Linked DNA regions of Homo sapiens: regions 1, 3, 4, 5 and 6 are each linked to region 2. The links are contacts of gene promoters, found by promoter capture Hi-C in blood cells and fetal thymus (Javierre and others, 2016). All regions are on one chromosome and are shown on one strand. The core of a region is centred on a gene start or on the middle of the fragment in contact, and the rest is flanking DNA. Distances in the headings are between cores, read along the strand shown. Region 1 has its middle 180 kb from the start of ADGRG6. Region 2 holds the start of ADAT2 (adenosine deaminase tRNA specific 2). Region 3 has its middle 160 kb from the start of ADGRG6. Region 4 has its middle 270 kb from the start of HIVEP2. Region 5 overlaps LOC153910 (a long non-coding RNA gene). Region 6 overlaps HIVEP2 (HIVEP zinc finger 2).

Evidence for each region. The method cuts DNA at HindIII sites, captures the fragments that hold promoters and counts their contacts. A CHiCAGO score of 5 or more calls a contact.
Region 1: a fragment that was not itself captured here is called in contact with the fragment with the promoter of ADAT2 in region 2 in 3 of 17 cell types (naive CD4 T cells, endothelial precursors and activated CD4 T cells); the score reaches 6.1 in naive CD4 T cells.
Region 3: a fragment that was not itself captured here is called in contact with the fragment with the promoter of ADAT2 in region 2 in 1 of 17 cell types (activated CD4 T cells); the score reaches 5.2 in activated CD4 T cells.
Region 4: a contact is called between a fragment that was not itself captured here and the fragment with the promoter of ADAT2 in region 2, in 3 of 17 cell types (total B cells, naive B cells and M0 macrophages). The highest score is 14.5, in total B cells.
Region 5: a contact is called between a fragment that was not itself captured here and the fragment with the promoter of ADAT2 in region 2, in 1 of 17 cell types (naive CD4 T cells). The highest score is 5.0, in naive CD4 T cells.
Region 6: a contact is called between a fragment that was not itself captured here and the fragment with the promoter of ADAT2 in region 2, in 1 of 17 cell types (megakaryocytes). The highest score is 5.8, in megakaryocytes.

Annotation. Positions count from the first base shown.
Region 1 is chr6:142,477,590-142,482,274 of GRCh38, reverse strand. No RefSeq gene overlaps it. Among named protein-coding and RNA genes, the nearest start is that of ADGRG6, 180 kb to the right of the region's middle. The HindIII fragment of the contact is 1,297 bases long and covers 928-2,224 here.
Region 2 is chr6:143,447,904-143,452,064 of GRCh38, reverse strand. It overlaps ADAT2 (adenosine deaminase tRNA specific 2), which reads left to right and starts at 1,370. Exons shown (of 6, transcript NM_182503.3): 1 at 1,370-1,502. The coding sequence starts at 1,407. PEX3 (peroxisomal biogenesis factor 3) reads right to left here and starts at 1,260. Exons shown (of 12, transcript NM_003630.3): 1 at 950-1,260. The coding sequence starts at 1,022. It also overlaps the pseudogene RNA5SP221. RefSeq lists enhancers at 1,420-1,579, 1,382-2,364 and silencers at 2,120-2,199, 2,260-2,339. The HindIII fragment of the contact is 8,229 bases long and covers 1-4,161 here.
Region 3 is chr6:142,459,682-142,463,899 of GRCh38, reverse strand. No RefSeq gene overlaps it. Among named protein-coding and RNA genes, the nearest start is that of ADGRG6, 160 kb to the right of the region's middle. The HindIII fragment of the contact is 646 bases long and covers 2,518-3,163 here.
Region 4 is chr6:142,670,011-142,674,530 of GRCh38, reverse strand. No RefSeq gene overlaps it. Among named protein-coding and RNA genes, the nearest start is that of HIVEP2, 270 kb to the left of the region's middle. RefSeq lists enhancers at 2,370-2,609, 1,554-2,753. The HindIII fragment of the contact is 234 bases long and covers 1,213-1,446 here.
Region 5 is chr6:142,567,801-142,572,328 of GRCh38, reverse strand. The region is part of intron 1 of LOC153910 (a long non-coding RNA gene); the gene reads left to right. Among named protein-coding and RNA genes, the nearest start is that of ADGRG6, 270 kb to the right of the region's middle. The HindIII fragment of the contact is 9,498 bases long and covers 1-4,528 here.
Region 6 is chr6:142,888,572-142,893,044 of GRCh38, reverse strand. The region is part of intron 1 of HIVEP2 (HIVEP zinc finger 2); the gene reads left to right. Among named protein-coding and RNA genes, the nearest start is that of HIVEP2, 54 kb to the left of the region's middle. The HindIII fragment of the contact is 7,933 bases long and covers 1-4,473 here.

The sequences.
Region 1 (4,685 bases), core at 327-2,826, 970 kb after region 2:
CCAGGAATTCAATAATAAGAATATTAAGCTCTCATTATAAAAACTTGGAAAGATGAAAAAGTTTAAAGAAGAAAATGAATAACACCGGAAAATATGCAGCTTATAGATAAACACGGTTAACATGTTCCTACGACTTGCAGCTCTTTTTTACTATATGTATATGCGGGTGGGGTACAAAACTATTATGCCTTTCTATGAATTTACTGTGCTTCATCCTGCGAAGGTAAATATAATTTGCCATGAAATAATATTGATGTGTGAGCACTGAATCGTAATATTTTCCATTGGCCACTCTCAAACCTATGTTCTACATATTATAGCATGATATTTTACAACAATTTTAGTCTTGTAGACAAGTGCAAAAATAGTATAAAGTCTTTTTGTATACTTTTAACCCAAATTCAGAACTATCAACATCTTACCACATTTGTTTTATCATTTAATCTGTCTTACTTTCTTCTGTATAGATAATAGCTTGGTAGATAAAAATAGAGATTAACAAGGAAAACTTGTTTTCCTGGATAGGCACAACACCTCTGACACCAAACGTGTGAATTTTCTACACTCGGCACTTCTTCACTTCTCTGTGGATACCAGCTGAGTAGTGACTCACAGGTCATTTCAACTCTGACACTATCCACCTGGAGTTAGTTTAACATCCTGCAAGTTAAAGAGCTCAGTCCCACAAGACCGCTCCCACTTTAGATGCCAATCACAAGTCCCGGGTTTCCACCTGTACTTCTGACTGGCTGGTTATAAACTAGGGGTTTCCATGACCCCCTTCTTAGGTTCAATAATTTGCTACAATGACTTACAGAACCCAGGGAAACACTTCATTTACTTTGATTGGTTTATTATAAAGGATACAAATGAACAGCCAGATGAAGAGGTATGGAGGGCAAGGTATGGGGGAAGGAGCATGAAGCTTTCATGCCCTCTCTGGGCGGGCCACCCTCCTAGCACCTCTGTATATTCACTGTCTCAGAAGTTCTCCAAACCACTTCATTTAGGACTTTTCTGCAGACTCCATCATGCAGGCATGATTAATTAAGTCACTGGCCATTGGTGATTGAACTCAATCTCCAGCCTCCCTCTCCTCCCCAGAGGTTGTGGGTGGGAATGGGGCTGAAAGTCTCAATTCTCTAATCACATGGTTGGTTCCTCTGGCAACAGCCTTCATTGTGGAGATATCTAGGGGCTTTTGGCCACCAGTCATCTCATCAACATACAAAAAGATACTCTTGGCCAGGCATGGTGGCTCACACCTGTAATCCCAGCACTTTGGGAGGCTGAGGCAGGAGGATTACCTGACGTCAAGAGTTCCAGACCAGCCTGGCCAACATGGCGAAACCTTGTCTCTACTAAAAATACAAAAAAGTAGCTGGATGTAGTGGTGGGCACCTGTAATACCAGCTACTTGGGAGGCTGAAGCACCAGAATCGCTTGACCCTGGGAGGCAGAGGTTGCAGTGAGCCGACATTGCGCCATTGCACTCCAGCATGGGCAACAGAGCGAGACTCTGTCTAGAAAAAAAAAAAGATACTCTTATCACTCCAGAGGTTCCAAAGTCTTAGAAGCTCTTCTGTCAGGAACCAAGGAGGAACTAAGAAAGACTATTACAACAAATGATGCTCCTAGCAGTCCTATTATTCAGGAAGATACAAGAGTGTTAGAAGTTTTGTGCCAGGAACCTGGGGTGAAGACCAAATATACATTTCTTATTATATCACAAAGATAGGCAATTTTTAAAAAACTATTTGAGAATAAGTTGTAAATTGCAGACATTATGAACAATTATGCATAAATACTTCAGTCTACTTCAGTTAATTTCCTAAACACAAGGGCATTATTTTATATAACCATAACATGGCATCAAAATCAAATTAACACTGGCACAGAAATATTATCTAATCCATAGGCCTTATTCAAACATGGCCAACTGTCCCAATAATACCATTTATAACAAAAATAAATTATAAGCATGTATGTGTATATGAGTATGTTGGTATGTACATATGTATGTATTCATGTTTCTGGCCTGGAATCCAATCCAGGATTACACTTTGTATTTAATTGTCATGCTTCCTTAGTTTCCTTTAATGTAGAAACTTCCTCAGACTTACTTTTTTGGCCATGACACGTTTGAAGAGTACAGACCATTTATTTTGTAAAATGTCCTTCGACTTAGGTTAGTCTAATATTTCCTCATAATTAGACTCAAGCTTTGCATTTCTGGCAGGAATATCACAAAATATTCCATCTTTCTCAGTGCATCATGTTAGGAGGCACATAATGGAATTCTATCCCATTACCGGTGATATTAACTATAATTGCTTGATTAAGGTGTTGTCTTTCAGATTTCTTCACTGTAAAGATACTATTTTAACTGTTGCAACTAATAAACTTTGTAAATATGTATATGTATATATATATACACACACACACACAAACAAAATATATATATCACCACAAAAAAATTTATAGGCACCAGTGATATATATATATATATCTCTCTCCACAAAAAAACTTATAGGCACCAGTGAGATACATATATATATATATATATATATATAAAGTTTTTCTGTGTGTGTGTGTGTATATATATATATATGTATATACACATACACAAAAATATATATATACACGCCAAAAAAACTTAATTTCAAAGTTTATTAGTAAATCCCAACAAAACTGAATGTGTGTGTGTATATATATGTATATATAAAATTTATATATATAGTTTTGGTTTTGATATTTAACATTATATTATGATCGTTGTCTCAATAAATATTCTTCATTGAAGTATTTTAATATTTGCGTAATATTTCTTTATATGGTTGGATCTCAATGGATTAAAAATACTTTTCTACTGTCGGTTATCTAGTTTGTCTCCATTATTTCATAATAGTGTGGTGTGTTGTTCAGCATGTAAATTAGCTTGGTCATTACGAGAAACAGTATGGAGGTTCCTAAAAACATTAAAAATCAAGCTACCATGTGATATGGCAAACCCACCACTGGGTACATCCAAAGGAAATGAAATCAATATATGGAAGAGATATGTGTGCTACCATATTCACTGGAGCATTATTCACAATAAATTAAGCTAAGTGCCCGTCAACAAATGAATGGATAAAGAAAATGTGGTATATATATACAATGAAATATAATTCAACCTCAAAAAAATAAGGACATTCTGTCACTTCAGACAATATGGATAAACCTGGAGATCCTAACCTGGAGCTCTTTAGATAAGTGAAATAAGCCAGGTCCAGAGACACAAATACTACATGATCTCACTTATACGCAGAATCTAAAAAACTTGAACTCATAGAAGTAGAGTTACCAGGGGCTAAGGATGAGAGTGAGGAGATATTGTTCATAAGATACAACATTTCAGTTAGACAAGAGAAATAAAGAGAGCTATTGTATAACATGGTGGCTATCATTAATAACAATGTATTGTACTCTCAAAAATTGCTAAAAGAATAGATATCAATTATTCTCACCACAAAAAAGGTAACTATGTGAGATAATGTTTATATTAATTAGCTTGATTTAGCCATTTCACAATGTATACATGTTCCAAAACAACATGCTATAAATAATATATACAATTTTTGTCAATTAAAATAAATAGACAATATTGTAGTGAATATCCTTCTATAAGAATATTTGTCAGCACCTCTGATTAGATCACTTGAAGTAGAAATATTAGGTCAAAACGATCAGACTGTAAGACCCTTTCTACATATTTTTAAAATCCTTCTTAGACTGGTTACACAAATTTACTACCCAATTGTCTCAGTCCATTTGAGCTGCTATGAAAAAACACCATAGACTGGGTGGCTTATAAACAACAGAAATTTAATGGTCCCAGTTCTGGAGGCTGCAAGTCCAAGACCAAGACATTAGCAGATTTGGTGTGTGTGGTGAGGGCCGGCTTCCTGTTTTATAAGTCACATCTTTTTGCTGTGTCATCACATGGCAGGAGGGAGGAGGGAGCCCTCTGTGGCCTCTTTCATAAAAGCACCAATGCCATCCATTAGGGCTCTCCCCTGATGATCTAATCTCCTTCCAAAGGACCCACCTCCAAATATCATCACCCTGAGGATTAAGACTTAACATATGAATTTGGTTGGGGCGGCAGGGGGGTGGGGGTGGAGAACATTCAGTCTATAGCACCAACTGTCAATTTACAATGCCATGCTGCTTTTTTAACCTTACTGGCATAAATTATGTTTTCGTCTCTGCCCATTTGAAAGGAGGGCAAATTCTAGAATGTGGGTTCTGGCATTCTGCTTTTGATTAGAAAGCTGCACAAGAATGTCACTCTACTTATGAGAAAATGCAGATAATCTATAAAACTCTACCTTTTCTTGATCCTATCAGAGAGCTGGGATTGTAAGCCAAATAAACAAACTGATTCCAAAGGGTGACAAGAATCTTTGAGGAGAGATGGGGTCCAAGGACTATTTCAGTTTTGACAGAACATGAGAGAAAGGCGGCTGCCATTAAACAAACTAAGAGAAAGTTAGCTAAAAATTAGAAAACATACTAAAAGCCAAGTGTAAGCTAGCATATCAACTTAAAATAACCATAAGCTCATGCAAGGTGAGCTCACACTTATGTGCAGGCTTGTTTCCACAGGCCTGCACGAGATGCTCACAAGACACAAGGCAACA
Region 2 (4,161 bases), core at 121-2,620:
CAATCTAATACTAAGAGAAAAGCCAACCAAATTCTTTGGGAAACTCTGTTCTTGATTTTAAGTACTTTTGTAAACATAGCATGTAATAAGTGATGAGACTATTTCTCAAAAACTCAAGTTCTAACAAATTTCCTCTTTTATAGTTCCTAGATGTCCTTTTCATATAATTCACAAAACTTTTATTCCCTCCTTCAAATCCCTGAATATTATCACATGAGCATTGTATGAGGGAAAAGCGTCTCAAGATTTTTATCTTATCTGTTTCTAAATCTCCTCTGGGCCTGTGCAACTCAGTTATGTCAGCTAGATTACAATGATCCCAACCTTGAAGATCCTGAGGAAGATTGCACAACATCCCTCAAGCATTTTTCTTACTGCCATAGTTTGTATTCTAAAATGGCAGAAACAGAGCTAAAATATTGATTTGTTTTTCTTTATCTAATCCATATCTTTCAGTCCTTTAGGACAACTGCGCTGTTTTCAAAAATTCAAATCGACTTTAACCACCACCCGAAGTGCAGCCTATAGGTAACTTCCCTAGATTATTATTAAACTCCTGAGAAGGGTGAGAGCCAAAGTATCAAGAGTGCCAAGGAGAAATGCAGAATCTCACAGGAAAGCAGAATTTTTTTTAAAAAGTTCCTGTAAGAGAATGGTGCCTTGAAACAGAAACTTAAACTGTGATGAGTTCTCCAAAGGTCCGTGAGAAAAAAGGATAGGTGAGAAACAGAGTTAAGAGTCGGTGACAGGGCAAAGGGCACAGAGGCATTTCTCAACTGCAGAGATGGGAGAACCCTGGAGGTTGGCCACCTCCCTTTTCATCCCATGGTTGATCGAACTCCCTCTACATATCCCAGACTAGGATCGCCCGGCCTGTCCTTATTTTAGAAGAAGTCACCTCTCCCACCCCCTTCTCCCAATGCCCCCTTTCAAGCACGTTGTCACCCACCTCCAAGGACCGTGCCCAGGAAGATGCATTTCTTTTTGTGGCGTTTCAGAAAATTCCATACAGACCTCAGCATCTTTAGGCCCTAGGGGTGTGGGCTGACTAGGGGTGAGGGACTGCTTCACCAGGAAACTGTTTCTTCGTCACCTGGCCCAGATGACCCAGCAAGAGCGCCGTCGTCCCGTTCTGTGCTCTCCCGAAATCACAAACGTGACTTTCCGCAGAGACTGTCACCGGAGCGGCAAGGGGGCGTGGACTACAGCAAAGCAGCTACGCTTTCTGCCGCTGCCGCCGCGCAGCCGCCGCCGCTCACTGGTCCGACAAGCCCAGGTCCGTTCAGAAATAGCTCCCGAGTGCCTTTTCATTAGACTACCCCCGGAAACGGGGTCCCGGGCCCGCCGCGTTCCGCTGCCCGCGCTCCTCCTCTGCCGCGGGCTCTGTAGCTGAGTGGTGGCTGGGTATGGAGGCGAAGGCGGCACCCAAGCCAGCTGCAAGCGGCGCGTGCTCGGTGTCGGCAGAGGAGACCGAAAAGTGGATGGAGGAGGCGATGCACATGGTGAGGAGCCCGGGAGGTAGATGCTGCGGGGTGGGACCTTTCTCCAGCCCTCAACCCGACCCCGGCATTTGAGCAAACGTTCTTTCTCGTCACCATAATTTTTATGGCAGTCAGATGTTCTGGGTGAACAACTGGCTTTACTGCCTCGAAACTTTCTGTAGCCCATTCTCACAGTGGCTCTGGGCGAAGGAAGGGGAGGAAATACACAAATTATTTGTTTCATTGCGGTGGAGTATGCTGCAGACTTAACATTCTGTCGCCGGCTGGCACGTGCTGCCTCCCTTTCCTTTCTGTGGTCACACACTCTCCAATCTACAAAGTCACATTATTTGAGGTTTTGGCCCTTGGAACATGTCCAGCAGAAGGAAGGAAACTGAGAACGTTTCTGGTAGAGAGCAGTATGGAAACAAGTCCCTGTACAATCGGCGTCTCGCATTCATTCATTATTTCCTCTGCCCTTTTACTTCCTTCCCTCACTCCCTTCAGGACTGCGAAATAAAGGGGGCTTTCAACAGAATGCTGTGTGCTAGCGAGCTTCTTAACTGGGAAAAAAAGTTTGTTTGTAAATATATGTATTTACATTTTAATAACTACATACAGCCACGTGCCACACAATGACCTGTCGGTAAAGGTCGTTATCCTGGAGCATTAAATCTACTCACCTTAGCCCTATTGTCCCATCCAAGTACTAACCAGGCCTGACCCTGCTTAGCTTCCGAGATCGGGGGACATTCAGGGTGGTATGGAGGTAGACAACCCTAGTTTCTATGTAGACTTCTGGGCTAAACACTTTCGCTACCTTTTAGGTTGACCCTGGGCTAGCACATGTAAATACATTTACATACGTTTACAAACAAACTTTTATCCCAGTTAAGAAGCTCGCTAGCACTTTTCAGCTCCATTATAATCTTATAGGACCACATATACAGCGGTGGTGCTATAGGATTATAATGAAGCTGAAAAGTTCCTGTTGCCCAGTGACATGTAGCCCTCCTAACAAGTACTTTTTTTCCTTTAAGACCTTGAAGAAACTTGTATATGCTAAAACCCAAGAAGCAGCTGCCTCCTTAATCCTGTGTAGGAGGACGTAAACTATGGAATCACATCCCTAGGTGTTTATAATACAATTAAGAGACAAAAAATGTCAAAGCCAGAGAGGTCTAGAAATTCTTTGAAAACATCTACATGTTTAAAAAGATACAAAGTAGCATGGCCAGATGCAGTGGCTCATGCCTGTAATCCCAAAACTTTGGAAGGCAGAAGCAAGAGGATCTCTTGATCTCAAAAGTTGAAGAACAGCCTGGGCAACTTAGCCAGACCCCGTCACTACTAAATAAAAATTTAAAAATTAGTAGGGCATGGTGGCATGTGCCTGTAGTCCCAACTACTCAGGAGGCTGAGGAAGGTGGATTGCTTGAGCCTTGGGAGATTGAGGTCGCAGTGAGCCGTGTCTGTGCCACTGTACTCCAACCTGGGAGACAGAGCCAGACCCTGTCTCAAAAAAGAAAAAGATACAAAGTAAAGGAAATACAAAGAAGGAAAATATTTGCGACATATATAAAAGGACAGGTTTAATAACCGTAGCATATAATTTATATAAAATCTAAGTACTTTCCGACGTAAAAGGAAAGATGTATACCCTAATACTGAAAAAGGTCAAAGGCTATGAATATATTTCTTTTTAAAATTTCTTTTTATTTTTAGAAGATTTTTTTTTGGTTTAGACAGGGTCTCTCTGTGTTGCCCGAGCTGGTCTTGAACTCCTGGGCCCGGGCAGTTGTCCCACCTCAGCCTCCCAAAGTGCTGGGATTACAGGTGTGAGTTACCACACCTCACCTGAACATGATATTTCTAAAAGAAGTGACGAGTGAGTAGCCAGCAAATAAATGAATACACAATTTCACTATTAATGAAATTCAAATTAAAATGATACACAATTTTTTACCTGTTAAATTGGCAAAAGTGAAAGCAATTTTAATGCTTGGTGATAATAAGGGTGTGCATGTTTGAGGTGTTTGTTGGTTGGGAGGAGCTGAATTTAGAAAACCCTTTTTTTTTGTATGTAACATGTATATTACAGTTTTTATTTAATATGCTGATAAAGTTAACTCTAGTTAAGCCAAAGTTGAAAGTTTTAAGTTTAATTTACTTTTTTTAAATTATTATACTTTAAGTTCTAGGGTACATGTGCACAATGTGCAGGTTTGTTACATATGTATACATGTGCCATGTTGGTGTGCTGCACCCATTAACTCGTCATTTACATTAGGTATATCTCCTAATGCTATCCCTCCCCTCTCCCCCCAACCCCATGACAGGCCCCGGTGTGTGATGTTCCCCACCCTGTGTCCAAGTGTTCTCATTGTTCAATTCCCATCTATGAGTGAGAACATGCGGTGTTTGGTTTTCTGTCCTTGTGATAGTTTGCTCAGAATGATGGTTAACAGCTTCATCCATGTCCCTACAAATGAAAAGGATGAACTCATCCTTTTTTATGGCTGCATAGTATTCCATGGTGTATATGAGCCACATTTGCTTAATCCAGTCTATAATTGATGGACATTTGGGTTGAGTTCCAAGTCTTTGCTATTGTGAATAGTGCCTCAATAAACATTCTTGTGCATGTGTCTTTATAGCAGCATGATTTATAATCCTTTGG
Region 3 (4,218 bases), core at 1,591-4,090, 990 kb after region 2:
ATACAGTAAATTGGTACCAGGTGTGGGGTGCTATTATAAAGATACTGAAAATGTGGAAGTGACATTGGAACTGGGTCATAGGCAGAGGCTGGAACAGTTTGGAGGGCTCAGAAGAAGATAGAAAAAATGTGAGAAAGTTTGGAACTTCCTAGAGACTAGTTGAATGGCTTTGACCAAAATGCTGATAGTCATATGGACAATAAAGTCCAGGCTGAGATGGTCTCAGATGGAGATGAGGAACTTCTTGGGAACTGGAGTAGAGGTCACTCTTGCTATGCAAAGAGATTGGCTGCATTTTTCCCAGCCCTAGAGATCTGTGGAAATTTGAACTTGAGAGAGATGATTTAGGGTATCTGGCGGAAGAAATTTCTAAGCAGCAAAGCATTCAAGAGGAAGCAGAGCATGGAAGTTTGGAAAACTTGTGGCCTGATGATGCAATAGAAAAGAAAAGTCCAGGCCAGGTGCGGTGGCTCACGCCTGTAATCCCAGCACTTTGGGAGGCCAAGGCAGGCAGATCACAAGGTCAGGAGATCGAGACCATCCTGGTTAACATGGTGAAACCCCGTCTCTACTAAAAATACAAAAAATTAGCTGGGTGTGGTGGTGGGTGCCTGTAGTCCCACCTACTCAGGACGCTGAGGCAGGAGAATGGCGTAACCTGTGAGGTGGAGCTTGCAGTGAGCTGAGATCGCACCACTGCACTCCAGCCTGGGCAACAGAGCAAGACTCCATTTCAAAAAAAAAAAAGAAAAGAAAAGCCCATTTTCTGGGAAGAAATTCAAGCTGGCTGCAGAAATTTGCATAGGTAACAAGGAGTCAAATGTTAATAGCCAAGACAATGGGGAAAATGTCTCCATGGCATGTCACACACCTTCACACCAGCCCCTCCCATCACAGGCCTAGAGCCTTAGGAGGAAAAAATGGTTTTGTGGCCCAGGCCTGGGGGTACCCCTGCTCTATGCCACTCAGGGACATGGTGCCCTGCTTCCCAGCTGCTTCAGCTCCAGCTGTGGCTAAAATGGGCTAATGTACAGCTCAGGCCATTGCTTCAGAGGGTTCAAGCCCCAAGCCCTGGTGGCTTAGATGTTGTGTTGGGCTTGTGGGTGCACAGAAGTCAAGAATTGAGGTTTGGGAATCTCCACCTATATTTCAGAGGATGTATGGAAACACCTGGATGTCCAGGCAGGAGTTTGCTGCAGGGGCTGAGCCCTCATGGAGAGCCTCTGCTAGGGCAGTGCAGAATGGAAATGTGGGGTCAGAGCCCCCACACAGTGTCCCTTTTGGGGCACTGTCTGGTGGAGCTGTGAGAAGAGGGCCACTGTCCTCCAGATCCTGGTATGGTAGATCCACTGACAGCTTACACCGCTTGCCCAGAAAAGCTGTAGACACTCAATGCCAGCCCATGAAAGCAGCCAGGAGGAGGGCTATACCCTGCAAAGCCACAGGGGGCAGAGCTTTCCAAAGCTGTGGGAGCCGAACTCTTGCATCAGTGTGCCCTGGATGTGAGATATGGAGTCAAAGGAGATAATTTTGGAACTTTAAGGTTTAATGACTCTCCTATTGGATTTTGGCCTCACATAGGGCCTGTGGCCCTTTGTTTTGGCCAATTTCTCCCATTGGGTGTGTTTACCCAATTCCTCTACCCCCATAGTATCAACAAATAACTAACTTGCTTTTGATCTTACAGGCTCATAGGTGGAAGGGACTTGCTTTGTCTCAGATGAGACCTTGGACTTGGCCTTCTGGGTAAATGCTTGAATGAATTGAGACTTTGGAGGACTATTGGAAAGGCATAATTGTGTTTTGAAATATGAGGACATGAGATTTGGGAGAGGCCAGAAGTGGAATGATATGGTTTGGCTGTGTCTGTACCCGAATCTCATCTTGAACTGTAGTTCCCATAATCCCCATGTATTGTGGGAGGAACCCAGTGGCAGTTAATTGAATCATAGGGGTAGTTTCCCCTATGTTATTCTTGTGATAGAGAGTAAGTTATCATGAAACCTAATGGTTTTATAAGGGGCTTCCACCTTCACTTGGCTCTCATTCTTCTCTCTCCTACTGCCATGTGAAGAAGGACATGTTTTCTTCCCCTTCTGCCATGATTTCTCAGGTCTGTCTTTATTAGCAGCACAAGAATGGACTAATACACCCATCCTGACCATTCCCCAACCTAGAAATGACCTGTCTCTTTACAGCTCCAACTGTTGCTTTCATGCAGTGGATTTGTATCATAGAATCACTTCACTCATAATTAATGTGTTACCTAGTGCCACATTGACATTGCATTATTTCCCTCTATCCCTACCAGAAAAAACAATCTACTCATATATATTGAGATTACAGAGGCTTTTTACTAAAATGGAATTGTGTTAACCTTGAAAATACAAGGACTCAAAAGAACTTAAAAAATATTTCTGGGTTCCCTGCTGTCATCCTCTAAGAAATACTGTATGCTTCTGAAATGTGCCTGAATGAGTGATATGGTTGAGACAGAGCTCCTGCTTTATAGAAGCTTACAGTTTTCACAGAGTAGACTAGGAAAGCTCAAAGATGACTATGGTACAGGGGGAATAAAAACAGGCTAAGGATCTATTATAAATGGAGAAATGACATTTATTTGGTGACAGGACAGACTTCATGGAAAAGGAGGCATTTCAAATGGGCACCACTGGAAAAAAAAGATACCAAGAGAGAGAACATTCCAAGACAGAGAAAATGGCAGGACATATGTGGGAAGACAGCTCAGTTGGATCATGGTATCGATGCATTATGGAGGCCCTTGAATTCTAGGAAAGGAATCTGACTTAATTCAATAGGCAATGATGGGGCTTTGGGGTGATACAGCCAGAGCTTAGATTTAGGAAAACTCATCAAGTTGCTCTGTGTATGATGATTTGAGGCACATACAATATGGTATTCTCAATAAAAGTTGGTTGAATGAATTGTTGAAGATATGACTTCACAAATTCAGAAGTACAAAAAGAAAAGAAAAAAATGCAAAATAGTTTTCCATTCAGGTTGATAAAACAGTAACATTAAGTTTCAAAAATTCTTAGTACTTGTTATACTATGTGGTATTTATGCTTGGTACAGGACTTAGTGGGGATGTGGGTGATTTTACCAACTAATAGAAATATATGTGAAGGATAAACAGAAAGCTTTTCCACTATTATTTTGATTATTTTAGTAATCTAGTTGATCAATATTTTGAAAAGAGATCAGGATGGGGTACAGTAATGAATCTTATCAAAGTACGAAATTGCAGTTGATAGCAGTAAAATTGAAATGTTCTTAAAGACTAGTAGTGGGTGAAAGGAAATCCCCATAGAGATGGAGAACTTCAGCTAAGCTAGAAACAATATCCTTAAAGGAAAAAACTCCACAAACTTTGGAGACATTGCACAGTTAGGATTTTTCCTACTAACACTTTGCAACACCTAAAGAACACTGCTAAGATTTTAGGTTTACTTTAGTATTTGAGGACATGGGCTTTAAGGGCACAAGATTGTTGCTTGCATCACAGATAGTTCTTTTTGTCAAAAGCAACAAAGCCTATTATTATACAATTATTATAAAATATTATAAAACTATAAAACTACCCATTTCTGTTTTTAGTTCATCCAGATAAGACAGAAGGTACATCTAATAATGTTCTGAGTGTTCCAATGAATGCAGAGAAGAATGGCTGTACTGGAGGAGAAAAGCATTTGCCTGAAGTTGACAATATGAAGCTCAGCATATTCCAGGTAGGGCTGCAGATCCACCAGGATGAAATCCCCTCTACCAAGATGAAGGTCAAATTCCTATATAATAAGTTAGTAATCTCCTGTAGACATAAAAGTTGCCTGTTTTTTAGTAGTCACAATTTCCACACCCATGCTAAGAAAACTGGGCCCTTGAGTGGGGCCCAAGGTTCTATAACTGAACTTAATAGAAAGTGAGAATAACAACCAAGGCCACGATGCTTTATCATTTTTCAAATACTGCCACATATTTATCTCAGTTGTTCTTTACAGTCAAGTGAGGTAGCTATGGACATTACCAACTTTATTCCCATTCTACAGTTGAGAAAACTGAGGTTTGGAAAGATTAAGATACTTCCTAGTAAGTGACAGTTGTCAGTCCAGACATTTTTCTTAAAAGAAAATCCTTTGCTGTTTCCACATCATACTATCATCCATTGATGTAAGGAAATTGCACTAGGAGACAGAAAGA
Region 4 (4,520 bases), core at 80-2,579, 780 kb after region 2:
TTTTATCTTAGTTTTTTTTTTTTTTTTAAATGTTTCCCTTATGGATGTACCAATTAGGAAGGAGAAATGTAATAATTTTTCATTTCTACTTTTCAAGGAGTAATTCGTTTTGGTTTATTCACTTGTGAGATCAAAGCCACTTTGTTGTTGAATTTAATAAATCTTAATAGACAAGTCCCATTTATTTACCTGTAAGCCCAAGCTGATGTGGTGTAGTATTCCTTCCCTGGCTGGCTGCTTTTTTGCTATAGAGAGATTCTTTCCTCGTCATTTTCTCCCTAAAATATAAGCTTCCTTAGGGCAAATTCTTGGCTTACTCCCATCGTATTCCCAGCACCTAAGAAAATATTGCACAGATACTGAACTCTCAATAAATATTTGTTGAAAATTTGAATAGATAAATGGAATCAAGGGATCTTTAGTGCCTCTTGGGCATAAATAGAAATTATTGTGCCAGAATGTCCTGGGTGTAGACCTGAAGATGAATTAAATAGTTTTGTAACCTACATTGACTGTATTAAAAATTTACTCATTTGCTTTTTTTTAAAATTGACATGTTATAATTATACATATTATGGGATACAATTTGATGTTTGATACATATATATTGTATAATGATCAAATCGGGTATAACCATCACCTCATGCACTTATCATTTCTTTGTGGTGAGGACATTTAAACGCCTCTCTTCTAGCTATTTGGTAATATACAATACCTTACTGTTAACTGTGGTCACGCCACTGTGCAATGGAACATCAGAACTTATTTCTTCTATCTAGTTTTAACTATGTACTTGTTGACCAAATTTTCTCCATCCTCCCCTCCTGCCTCCCCTACTCAATCTCTGGTAACCACTGTTTTACTTTCTGCTTCCAACTCATCCACTCCTTTATTTATTCATGAATGTATTCTGTGGATCAGGCACTGGGTTAGGCATTGAGAACAACAGGATTTATAAGCCCCTGCTAAGAATTTAATTTACTGAAGATTAAAAGGCTTATTCAAACTTAGGCAATACGATGACACACAAGATGGACTGGAACTGCCAAAGGAGAGTGTAGACCCATTTATGGGGCACTGCAGGACATGACTTTGTCTTTTTAATGGGTCTTGAAAAGCCAGAGACCCTCACAAGTTTTTGCAATTAGACTGGCAACTACTTCAGGGCAGAAATAGTGTTTTTCCTTGTATGTTTTGTAGAAGGAAGAAGCTTTCTTCTAACTGGAAATCATTAAGTATATGTTGGTTGATTGAGTTATACTGATAACAACACCCTAACCCGTTGAAGAGATTTAAAATGGTAACAGCGATTCCAATTAGTCTTCCATGGAAAGCAGGGGTGTAAATGGCTTTTCTCAGGCAAAACTGGCTTTATTGGGTGCCCTTAAGATATCTAGGGAAAGACATATATTGCAGAGCTTCCGATAGTCTGAAAGTAAGAAAGCTTGAATATCTCCATGGAACTTTTCCTCTGGAGTGCCTATAAATTCATTTCCCTGGACTTGGATATAAATGAACTGTGCCTCATTTGCATTGTGTAACCCACTAAAAAGGAAATCACCCTCCACATAAAAGAAGATGTGGAGAAAGCATTTTCCAAGTGGACCGAATTTTAAATGTTTGTCTTATGTTATCTGAAGAAAGTAATACCTTCCTTCTTTTCTTTAATGTACCACCATTTGACAGGGGGTGGTTAGTGGTAGCTAAATTTTATTTGTGCCCCCTCCCCAATAATAGATTTCTAATTAAATAAATGTTAGATCCAAAATAGACGAAAGCATGAGATGGAATAAAAGACCCTTGCAATAACATAATGAGAAAAGTATTTTTAAACTGAGTTAACACTGTTTGAAAAATGAGGCAAACTTGATTCTGTCAAATCTGGGGCTCTCATGAGGTGAAGTTTTTGTACACACAGGCACAGATGTGTGCTGACAGATATTCAGAAGCGAGAGAAGATCATTCTGTGGAGAAACAGACATGAATTGGTCATATAAATCTTTGGAACAATCATAGATGAGTCAAGGCAAGTTTTTACAATGAATGCATGTTAACAAAACATTTATGATTTAGCCAAGGTGTCTCAATATTTAAAAATTGTACCGATTAGCAAGAAAAAGAGGTAAGTGATGATAAATCAGTTTTTCTCAAACCCAAAGACAAGCAAGGAAGGGGGGAAATAGCCAGCCTCTGTAATTTATTTACAGTAGAATGTGGAGTAATCAACTTGTCATTTTTTTCACTTTAAGATCTTTGAAAACCATAAGTTCTTAGAGACCTGGAATTGATCCTCTTTTTAGACATCCTTGTCTCTGATATAGGTTATAATAGACCATAAAGAGCAAAGGTGCCAAGTAGAAAAGGATAATCCATAAGAGAAAGTAAAGCTAACCTGCCATGCTTGTTTAAATGTGGGTGGCTCTGCCCTGGGAAGTCTCAAGGGACCCAGGCTCATCCTGTCTTCTTGCTCTGTTGCCTTCACACGTGGCTTCCATCTTGTGGTATGCTCACACTTCTGCCAGCAGAATGGAGGGCATACTTCTTCTTCTATAATAGCATGATCTGAAAATTGTACACTTCAACTTATCTCAGCTCCCATTGGCCAGAACCTAGTTTCAGGGCCACACTTAGCTGCAAGGAAGCCTGGGAAAGGTAGTCTTTGGCTGAGTGACTGGGGATCAGCTAAAACTCAGGGGAAAGAGGCAGAGAAAAGATACCAGGAACAATTAACAGACTCTGCCACTCAGCTTGAGAGAGGAATATGGGCAGAGTCTTGAAACTGAGATGGTGCAGGTTGAGCACCACGGCTGGGGTATGTGAAATGGAGCAGTGCCAAATAGAGTAAGAGGTCAAGCTGTGGTCAATAGATGAATTGATGAAGATTAATAAGGTACAAGTATTGACAGCTTACTCAGGACCAGATACTATCCTAGGTGGTTTGTGTGAACTCACTCATTTAATCCATCAAGCAACCCTTTCAAATAAGTATGATTATTACTTCCATTTAAGAGATTAAAAAAAAGAAAAAACGCTGAGGAACAGAACAGTTTAAAAACTCACTCAAGATTGTCATATTAGTCTGTTCTCATGCTACTAATAAAGACATACCCCAAACTGGGTAATTTATCAAGGAAAGAGGTTTAATGGGCTCACAGTCCCATGTGACTGGAGAGGTCTCACAATCGTGGCAGAGGAGACTAAGGAAGAGCAAAGGCACTTTTTACGTGGTGGCGGGCAAGAGAGCTTGCGCAGTGGAACTCCCATTTATAAAACCATAAGATCTCATGAAACTTATTCACCACCACTAGAACAGCATGGGAGAAACTGCCCCCGTGATTCAATTATCTCCACCTAGCCCCACCCTTGACACATGGGGATTATTACAATTCGAGGTGAGATTTGGGTGGGGACAAAGCCAAATCATATTAGTCATATACCTAAAAGCTGCCAATGTAGAAAGACAAACTTAGGATGAACAGATATTTAAACATTAAGGTCAGCATTGAGTCCATATGAAAGTGGAAAGGACATGTCTCCCCACTGTGCTTATTTTGGATAATCTCTTCAGATGGGGTTTATAATCCTGTAGCACAGCCCATAATTTGGCCACACAAGGAAAGATTTTTGAAAGCTGTCTTCCCTATTCATCATGACACTTCTGTCCTAAGATTCTTCCAAAGACATCCTCCGTCCATTTCCCTTCCTAAGCAGTGTTCAGTCTGTGATGAGGTCTTCTTGGCTCCAGTAAACAGTCCATCAATCCCAAGGCAAGGCCACTTCTGCCTAGCAAACCTCTGGCATTCTAGACAATGGTGAGGATAGGTACTTTCCCTACCTTACACTGGAACCATTGACTTTGCCTAGCTGATGCTGCCAGGCTGGGCTTGGGGCCTTTCCTCTCCTAAGAGTTTTCTATTCCAGTTAGCCTCCCCATGCCTGCTTTACCCATAGAGGCCATAAAGTATCTGGGGACATTTCAGCAAGTGGTTCTGGCCAGCCAGAGAAAAACTATCTCTATACAACTAGCATTTTAATTTATTAAAATTCAACACATTTATTATGCATAGTGAGGCCTAGAAATATGAATGAAAAACAATCTGTGACCATAGAAATCTTATAATCCATGCAGAGGGGTCCAATAACAATAATTACAAGGAAGAATAAAGTAAGCACCAAACGAGATGAAAGGTTGGTTTCATATCTATTGAAGAAGTATGATATCAATCCACTTTGAATGACTGACAGCAAATCACATGAGTAATTTACATGAGTTGAATTACATGTGCTATAAATTAGAAGAGAAGAAGACAAAGCAACTAAGTTAGGTCAAGGTCATTTCCAACCACCCTCCTATTTGATGAGAATGCATCCTGGACAGAGCATGAGATGGAAGACATGAATCTACTGTTGCCTCGGAAGCCTCTGTTCTCTTAGGCTGTAGAGATTTACAATGACACGTGCAAGGATATTGAACTTTAAAGGTGATTTCAGGCATTTTAAAGATTAACTTTGACCAAGTT
Region 5 (4,528 bases), core at 1,747-4,246, 880 kb after region 2:
TCTTGGATCTCGCCCAAGAAAGAATTTGAGGCGAGTCCATAGAGTAAAGTGAAGGCAAGTTTATTAGGAAAGTAAAGGAATAAAAGAATGCCTACTCTATAGGCAGAACAGCCTCTGGAGTTATCCATTTTTGTGGTTATTTCTTGGTTATATGCTAAACAAGGAGTGAATTGTTCATGTCTCCCCTTTTTAAACCGTATAGGGTAACTTCCTGATGTTGCCATGGTATTTGTAAGCTGTCATGGTGCTGGTGGGAGTGTAGCAGTGAGGACGAACAGAAGTCACTCTCATTGCCGTCTTGGTTTGGCAGAGTTTTATCTAGCTTCTTTACTGCAACCTGTTTTATCAGCAAGGTCTTTATTACCTGTATCTCATGCTGACCTCCTATCTCATCCTATGACTAAGAATGCCTTAGCCTTCTGGGAATTCAGCCCAGTAGGTCTCAGCCTTATTTTATCTAGCCCCTATTCAAGATGGAGTTGCTCTGGTTCAAATGTCTCTGATAATCATAATTTTCATCAATTTATGAAAATATTCTGTTTCTCATTGTAATTATAACTTTACTTTCTCTGGCTAGAAATGCCATAAGCATAGTTTCTTTTATCTTTACCATTTGTCTAATACTCTTTATTCTTTTAGATTTGATGTTTCTTTGTCCTTTTGATTTATATATTAGGAGTCTGATAGCCCAGGTAGTTTTATGTTTACTCTGGGTATTTGCCCTTTGGAAACAAATTTTTTCCTGTTTACTTTCATTATTGTCTTAACTAATTTACCTGCTTTTTCTTCTGCTATTTTGTTTTATGCTACTCCTTTTTGATCTTTCTTAATATTTATCTCGTTTTATTGAATCTTTAGTTTCTGTTTTATTCTCATCAGTCACATATCTTTTTTCTGGAACATCTATTATTTTATGATTTTCTTTCCTTGGCTACCCATGTTGATCATCAATCATCTTCACTCTTGGCAATTTGAACTCTTTTATGTTTTACTTGACGCTCTGGGAGATATTTAAGTTACTATTCCACAGGACCAATTCATTTTATGCATTGTCAATTCTATTCATTAATGCCTCCAATTCACATATTCATTTCAATTCTGTATGATTACAGAACTTTTTACATTTTAAATTTAAGAATGCTTCTTTCTTTATCTCTGTCTTCATCTTAATGAATTTTCTCCCTGTAATTTTATGCTCTTTTTTCATAGTTGCCATGTAGTCCTGCTTCCTTTAATGACATTAAGAAAATGTCATCATAAATTTTTTCTTTCTGATTTAAAGTTATTTTTCAAATACAAGATTTTTCTCAGAATCTTTGGAAATAGGTTTACATTCCCTTCTAGTTCAGTGTTGTTTCTCTAAAGGTTTGTTTGTTTATATATTCTTGCATGTGATCTATCCAAATTTGATCTATCCAAATCTAGGATTTTGCCACAGACAAGAAGCAGATGTCTTTAGTCCTACTTACAGCCCACCTTAGAGTTGACAGTTTACCCATTTTATCTAACCTGCAGAGCAGAGCTTCCCCTCTAAAAATATTTGAAAACACAATAGAAAGCCATCTCTTGGGAAAGGTTCATCAATAGAACTGTTTGTGGTCAAGAGAATGAATTAGGTAATCACTCAGGAACTCATCCATCCTCCAAGTTTTTCAAACTTTCCTCCTTGCTATAACTTACCAATTGACTTGTCCCCTCTCATAATACCAACCTGGTGAGCTCCAAGCACACAGAACACCATGTGACTTTGCCTGGGAGCTCTGTGGAAAGTGCTGTTTGTTTAAACTGATTGACATCATTTCCTGGAGAATTCAAGGAGTCAAAGTTAAAAAAAATTCTCTAACACTTTCAAAATGAGCAAAATTTTTCACATCATTCTTTGCTTTGGGATTTGCACTGCTAAGACAGCTGCAATAGCAACAGAAATTTAAACCCCAACAAACCACAAAGCTAAATAACAGCTTTCTACTTTTCAAAACTCAGGGGAAAACTATGCACAAGTCACAACTTGTCATGTGCTTCAGTAACTGGAATGTAGTGAGGTGAACTTCAGGTAAGCATCCCACTGAAACAAGGCCAGACTGTGGGCTTCCATGAACATACAGTTTCAAGGAATATCAGTGGGACTGACAACATTTATTGTAATGCAGTTTGCTTCCATTGATCTTCATACTGGCTAAAATCAGAAACCTGGAAAAATAGGTTTTGTATTTCAAGAGGTCTTACAATTTCCTTGAAAAGAGTTTTTTTTTCTAGCTTTATTTGTCATCTATCTCTTCTATGAGACTCTAAACTTGCAAACTGCCAATCCTGCCTGAGAGTAGGTGTTTCTGGGGAGGGTGAACTGAGAAAGGCATGGATGTGGTTTGGGAAAAGAGGGATGTGAATTTCACAACAGCAAAATGACTGTCTAAACCCACTTCAGAGAGAAGGAAATGGCTTAGTGACAAACATCTCAGGTGTGGGAAGTGAACTGAAATGGCTTTGATTCCGTAGTGTGAAAAGAACAAAAGAGTTCTTTGCTTATCATTCAGCTGCCTCAGACTCCTCCACCCTTTCCCTCTTCCTGCCTCCCTCTCATGTTCTGTAAGCTCAGTCCTTTGGAAAGTAAAATCTTGCTGCTCCAGCATTTAATGTTATGCCATTGCTCAGCAATGATCAGGATCTGAAAAATATCTCATCAGCAACTTAAACATTAATCATAGGTTTTTGAACTTTAAATAGTTGCTTGAACTCTAGCAAATCTTGAGTTAGATAAATAAAAATGCACACAAGAGGTTTCAGTTGTCATTCAAATGCTCACAGTTTATTTGGTCTCTGAGGCTCTGCAGCCTGTAAGAAAGAAGGAGTTCTTTGCATTTTGGTACTTCTGAGTAAAAGCAGTTGTGAAAAATATGTAAGGTGATAGCTCATTATGCATCTTCTGTGAATTTCAGGGAAATGTAAGGTTGGAGGTTTGATCAGTCTTTAGCTCTTTCCCTCTGCCACTCTAATTCATACCCATTGATGAGTCAGAAGCAGACTCTCAGAAAAGAGAACTAAAGCCATAGCTCAGAAAAAGTAAGTTTTATTTAGTGTTACATGTTACTTTTATTAAAGAAACCATGGAAGATTTTCTGAACCAAAGGAAGACTATAATGTGGTTGGCTAGAAATGAAGATAAAAGGTTTCTCCAGAAGGCAGGAGGCAAACTCACAGCATTTCCTCCCTGTTGCTAAGTTATGTAAGGAGCAAGATCATAATCAGAATGTTTCTTTGGTGAGCATGGAGCTTAATTTAAAAAGGAATTCAGATGATCTCATAAAGAGTCCTTCAACTGAAAGAGGAATAGCCTTGCCTGTGGATAACGCATTTATAGTTCCACTGACCAAGAGTCCTCTCACTGGGCTGTACTGAATAAATACCCTTCAACAAAGTCCTGTGTGCTATGCAGGTTATCTGCTGGTGATAAATTTTATTTTCTTTATGAACTCAAAATTTCATAGAATCATGAGCAAAGACATATTCAACAATTTGATTTGATTTATACAAAGAAAGTAAAAACCTCCCAAAAAACAAAGCACAAAAACCCATCTTTTCATAAACTTCTTCAAGAGCACCTCTACTGTATTTAGTGATAGATACATGAATCTAAATCAGGTATCTAAGGATAAAATAATGATGTGGGAAGAGATTGAAATGATGCTGGGAACAGAGAAATTTACAGGGAGGAATAATTTGGTTGGAATCTACAAGAATGGAAAGAGGTGCTCTCTAGACTCCCCTATACACATAGTGCAATGCTGACCTGCATATCCACTGATGTGATATTTCTCATGATACCAGTGCCTTATGATCAGGAAGGGATATTTCCGGCATGGTCGTTTCAATAGTAGAGATGGATTTGAGTTAATGTATCATCCATACCCTCTTGCTTGGTCCCCCTTGTGGCTTTTGAATAGGATTTCTGAACAGCTAGGACACAGTCTGTGGTCATGGAGCAGTATTAGGCTAACAAGTGTTCAAAGTCTTGTTTTTGGCCTCCAAGGTGAGGAGATGTATCCGGCTGAGAAAAAGGCCATATAAATAAAATAGGTTTATTTTATTTATGGGGCAGAGGCTCTCAAACTTCAATGTGCATCACTGCCCCGAAGAGGGTGTTTAAAATGCACATGTCTAGATGACTGCTAGAGATTTAGAAAGTTAGATATTGGGTGCAGAACTTTGCATTTTTAACCAGTAATCCAAGTGATACTGAAGCAGGTGGTCCTCCTTAAATTCAGTCTAGAAGTTTAGCTGACTTTTGCCTCTCCTCCTTGGCTCAGGTCCCTTTGAATTAGGCCCATTTACAGTTTTTAATCTGTTTTATTTTGATGAAGCCAGTTTTAGATCACAATTTACTTCTAGAATGCTCTTACTGTTATTCAAAATAGTATCATTTGGCAAAGTGCAAATGATTTTGAGAAGAAGGAACATAAAGAGCTTTTGAAAAGAAAGCCAGATAATAAGATGGCCTATTAAGAAGCAAGAATAGATTCAACTTTGAAGC
Region 6 (4,473 bases), core at 1,789-4,288, 560 kb after region 2:
AGTGGGATATTTGCTTTCGGAATCTTCACCTTTCCCATAGACATTATTGGAAGGGGCTTGCACCCATCCGTCATGTAACTTTTGCTCTATGTTACGAAGCCTCGCCGAGCTCCACTTTCCTTTTTGGTACGATGGAATGATTATACTTCTGAGAGTTGTAGCGAGCATTTAAGTGGGATGATAACTGTAGAGCTCAGTCCTGGAAGTCATTTCCATCTGTAATCTTGACTCCCCATTCCCTTACGTAGGAGGCTTGCACTAAGGACAGAGCCTTGGGGGAATGCCTGCTGTCTTCACATTTTACACCAACAGAATTGTGTGTTATTCAGTATTGCCTTGTATTAAGCCATTGATGTTATATCACAGGATATATGATTGATCCCTTTGAAAGGTCATTAAAATATTTGCTCACATGTCTTCTCGTTTATCTATTATAAGCATTTATAGACTTTGTTTAATGAAGATAGACCAATCACTTCTGTCTTATCATTAATTTGCATCCTGTGTCTGGACATGTGTACTTAGAACACAGTCCCTTTAAGAACCACTAGCCATCAGCAAAAATAACCTAGAGCAGCTCAGGTTACTGCCAGGCTCCAAAGACTCTTGGGGGGTCAGGTTGCTTATTTCTCTGGCACCTCCGCCGGGATGTAGGAAGAGCTTTATCCATGCCAGCAGAGGGTATGTGTGGATTTGTGCACATGAGTCCCTACTTTTAGCCAGGTGCCCTTAGACATGACTTCTTTTGGACTTGCCCCTTCTTTATGGTGGAAATGTTCTTAGTTGGGCCACTTAAATTGTTTAAAATCTGTTGTGACCCTGTTCCTGGACCTGGGTGCAAGAGCCTGTCTTTCCTATCACCCTTGGGTTTTGTACTATTTCTTTAAAAAATAAAAATGTAAAAGATATCAAAACCCATCAACACAGACAAGCATCTCCTATCCCCAAAGTGAAAGTGCAGTAGGCAGCGCAGTGAGGCCAGGCCAGGTGAGGGCACACCCCTTTCCCTGGGACCCCTGTGCCTGCATGTGTCAGCTAGCCTTTCTTCTAGGGAATGTTTTTACTGGCTGGACATAGCTAAAAGATCAAAGAATAAATGGGACATAAACAGGGCCTAAGGCTCTATAAAGATAAACAAACAAACAGAATGAACTCCTTAATGAAGTCCAGTTTTTCGATTGTGGAGAAACAGATATTGTTAAGAGGGATTACAGTGTTTGAGAGAGGACAAAGAACCAGCAAGGACTTAGACCATCGGGGGCCGTGTCTCAGCGATGTTGCCGAATTAGCTGAATTGCAGAATAAGAGTTTTAAAAGCTAGGTGGTATCTGTGAGTGACTCAAAGTCTCTCATTTTACACAGGAGGGCAAGGCCCAGGGAGGTTGGGTGACTTATTTGAAGTTACTCAACTGGGTGATAGTAGATCTCGATCCATAGCCCAGGTGCACAGATCATTCATCTCCATAACCCTGCAAAGACACAGTCAAGAGTTGAGATCTTTCCAAAACCCAGTTTCCTTATCTATAAATGGTGATTGTCCTACCTGGCATACCCTATCTGTAAGGATCTGCTAAGTGAGTGTGGGTGAGAACACTTTTTAAAATTATTAAATTATATATTAATATTAATATTAAATTATATATAAACATACATATGTATGATGAGATAGATGTACAGTGTAATACCTAGTATTTTGCTAAAATTCTTGATGTGGGAATACATGAACACAATCTGGGTTCTCCTTTGGAAATGAGAAACAGTAGGAAATTCCTTGAGTACAAGAACAGGAGTTCTAGACTTCGAGTTATTAATCTGATGGTTTTACTTACTGATGTTGTTATTAGTTTACTTTTCTGCAAAGTGGAAATACTAAAATCCTCAACCTATCTTGGAGTTGTCCCGAAGAGAACTTTAAGCATGTAAGTGAAAGTGCTTTGTGAACTGAAAAGCAAACAACAAAAGTGAACTATTTTTACCAAATACTTTTGAAAACTGCAGACCCTATCTTTACAGCACAGGTATAATTAAGGAGAACAGGCCATATATACAAAAGCATATTTCAGCATTCTATGACCTTGATGTCAGATAAAAACTACACCACCGGTAATGACTAATATTACAGTTTACAAATGGAAGTGTAATCATCCTTATAATTATTTTAAAATTGATCTTTCCCTCTAGACATTTATACAGATTGTCAAGACAGATACCTGGTGTTTTTCATATTTATGGGACATTATTTTCTGTAGTAATATACAAGATAGAGATTTAAGTGTTTTTTGTATTACTTTCTCAGTTACACTATTTGCACTAATATTTATATGTCTGATTTATCTCATTAGATTATTATATTAATAGGATATTTAGGAGTTGCAGTTAGTATTATCATTATTTGACAGATAGGAGGTCAGGTGATTTTTCCAAACCTCATAGAATGTTAATGGCAGAGCTGAGATTTGAAGCAAGCTCTTTTGGTCCAGATCCTGTGCACTTGCCACTCTGATCCATCTCTCTGTGTTGTGCTGGGGATTCCATTCTGTGGACTGTATTCTTCATTCATTTCTTTGGCAGTAATTCTTTCAAAATGTGTACAGGGAAATGAAGCAAGATCGTTTCTACCTTCAATGAATTTAGAGTGTTAGAAGGAATGCAGAGCAAGTGCACGAATATGTGAAGAAGTACACGCAATAAAAGCTGAATTGCGTTAACTTTGTAAAGATACAAAGTTTTGGAGGAGCTTATTTGAGGAAGATTCTCTATGGAACTCTGTTATCTGATCTTCTCACACTTTCATGGATAAATTTCTTAAATAGAATGGATTGTTTTACTGATGTAGAGCCCCTTCTACTAGTGTTAGAGCTAATTTGCAAAGGGAGTGAAAAATATAGGCATTTAGGTCTGATTTCTTTAACAGAGCAGGCAATGTTGAATTAACAAAAATGAAGACATAGATAGACCCTAATTAACACTGGCACTTGAATCCTTGTAAACAAGACTGATTTTGGGGAAAGGGGAAATGATAGACACTTAAAGGGTGCTCCATTGATGTCAGGGCTAATTTGGTCTGTGCTGTCCAGTGCTGTAGCCACCCAGACTCATGAGGTTATCTAAATTTAAATTAATTAAAATTGAAAAATCAGTTTCTCAGTTATACTAGCCACATTTCAAGTGTCAAGAGCCATTTATGGCCAGCGGCTACAGTGTTAGACAGTATAGATATATAGATACCTGTCTAGTGGACAGCACCAAAATAGGTCATTTTGATGTCTGATAAATGTATGTATAATTGCACAGCAGAAATCACTAAACATAATAATAGCTGCCATTTATTGAGCACCTTCTCAATAGGTGCCAGCTATTGTAGGAGGCACACAGTGTATGTTATTCCATTTGCCATAACACCATTTTGTATCTTGGGAACCTAAGGTTCAGAGAGGTTATGTAATTGCCTAAGATTTGATAAGACTATTGTTGAATTCAGTTTTCTTTGATTTCAGAGAGAATTGCTCTGCCATACCTTCTTTTTATCTAGTCTAGTTAGACCACATCAGGAGTTTTGTTTATTTGTTTCTTTGTTTGTTTATTTTGAGACAGGGACTTGCTCTGTTGCTCCGGCTGGGGTGCAGTGGCATCATCACAGCTCACTATAATCTCAAATTCCTTAAGTGATCTTACCGCCTCTGCTTCCCAAGTAGCTAGGGCTACAGGTGCATGCCACCACACCCAGCTAATATTTTGTAGAGACAGGGTCTTGCTTTGTTGCCCAGGCTGGTCTCCATCTCCTGGACTCAAGAGATCCTCCTGCCAGTCTCTCAAAATGCTGGAATTACAGATGTGAGCCACCATGCATGGCCACATCAGGAGTTTAAAATGTCAATGCAGTGTCCTGTCATTCAGTCCACTTTAGTTCAACAAAAGTGCCAGGTACTCTGCTGAGAGCTGGAGATGCAGTAATAAGTATAACATAGTCTCTGACCTTAAGGAGCTCAAAATCAAATAGAAAGTTCGAACACATAAATGAAAAATTATGATAGTGTAATCTCTGATACAAGACTTTGTATGATACAACTAGGAGCCATTGAAGGGTTTTGATGGAATGAGCAGTATAGTCAGAGTTATGTTTTCTACAACTCATTTTTGGTCATGTAGAGCATAGTTTGGGAGAAGAGGGAGAACTGAGGATAGTTATTTTATTTCCCTGAAAGAAGCACTGGGTTAAAGGGTAAAACTAAGGTCACGACAGTGGAATTAGAGAGAAGACAGACAAGGAAGAGAGGTAACTTGGTAAAATTGTCATGGCTTGGTGATTAGACATGGGAGCTGAGGTTTAAGGAGGAGTTAAGGATGACTCTCTTGAATATACCTTGGGTTCTTTGAATGTTTGACCTCATCAAAGGAGATCAGGCATGAGGGAAAGGTTGAATATGTATGTGTGTGCATGCACTCTTGCAGGTGCATTGCAGGGTGGGAAAA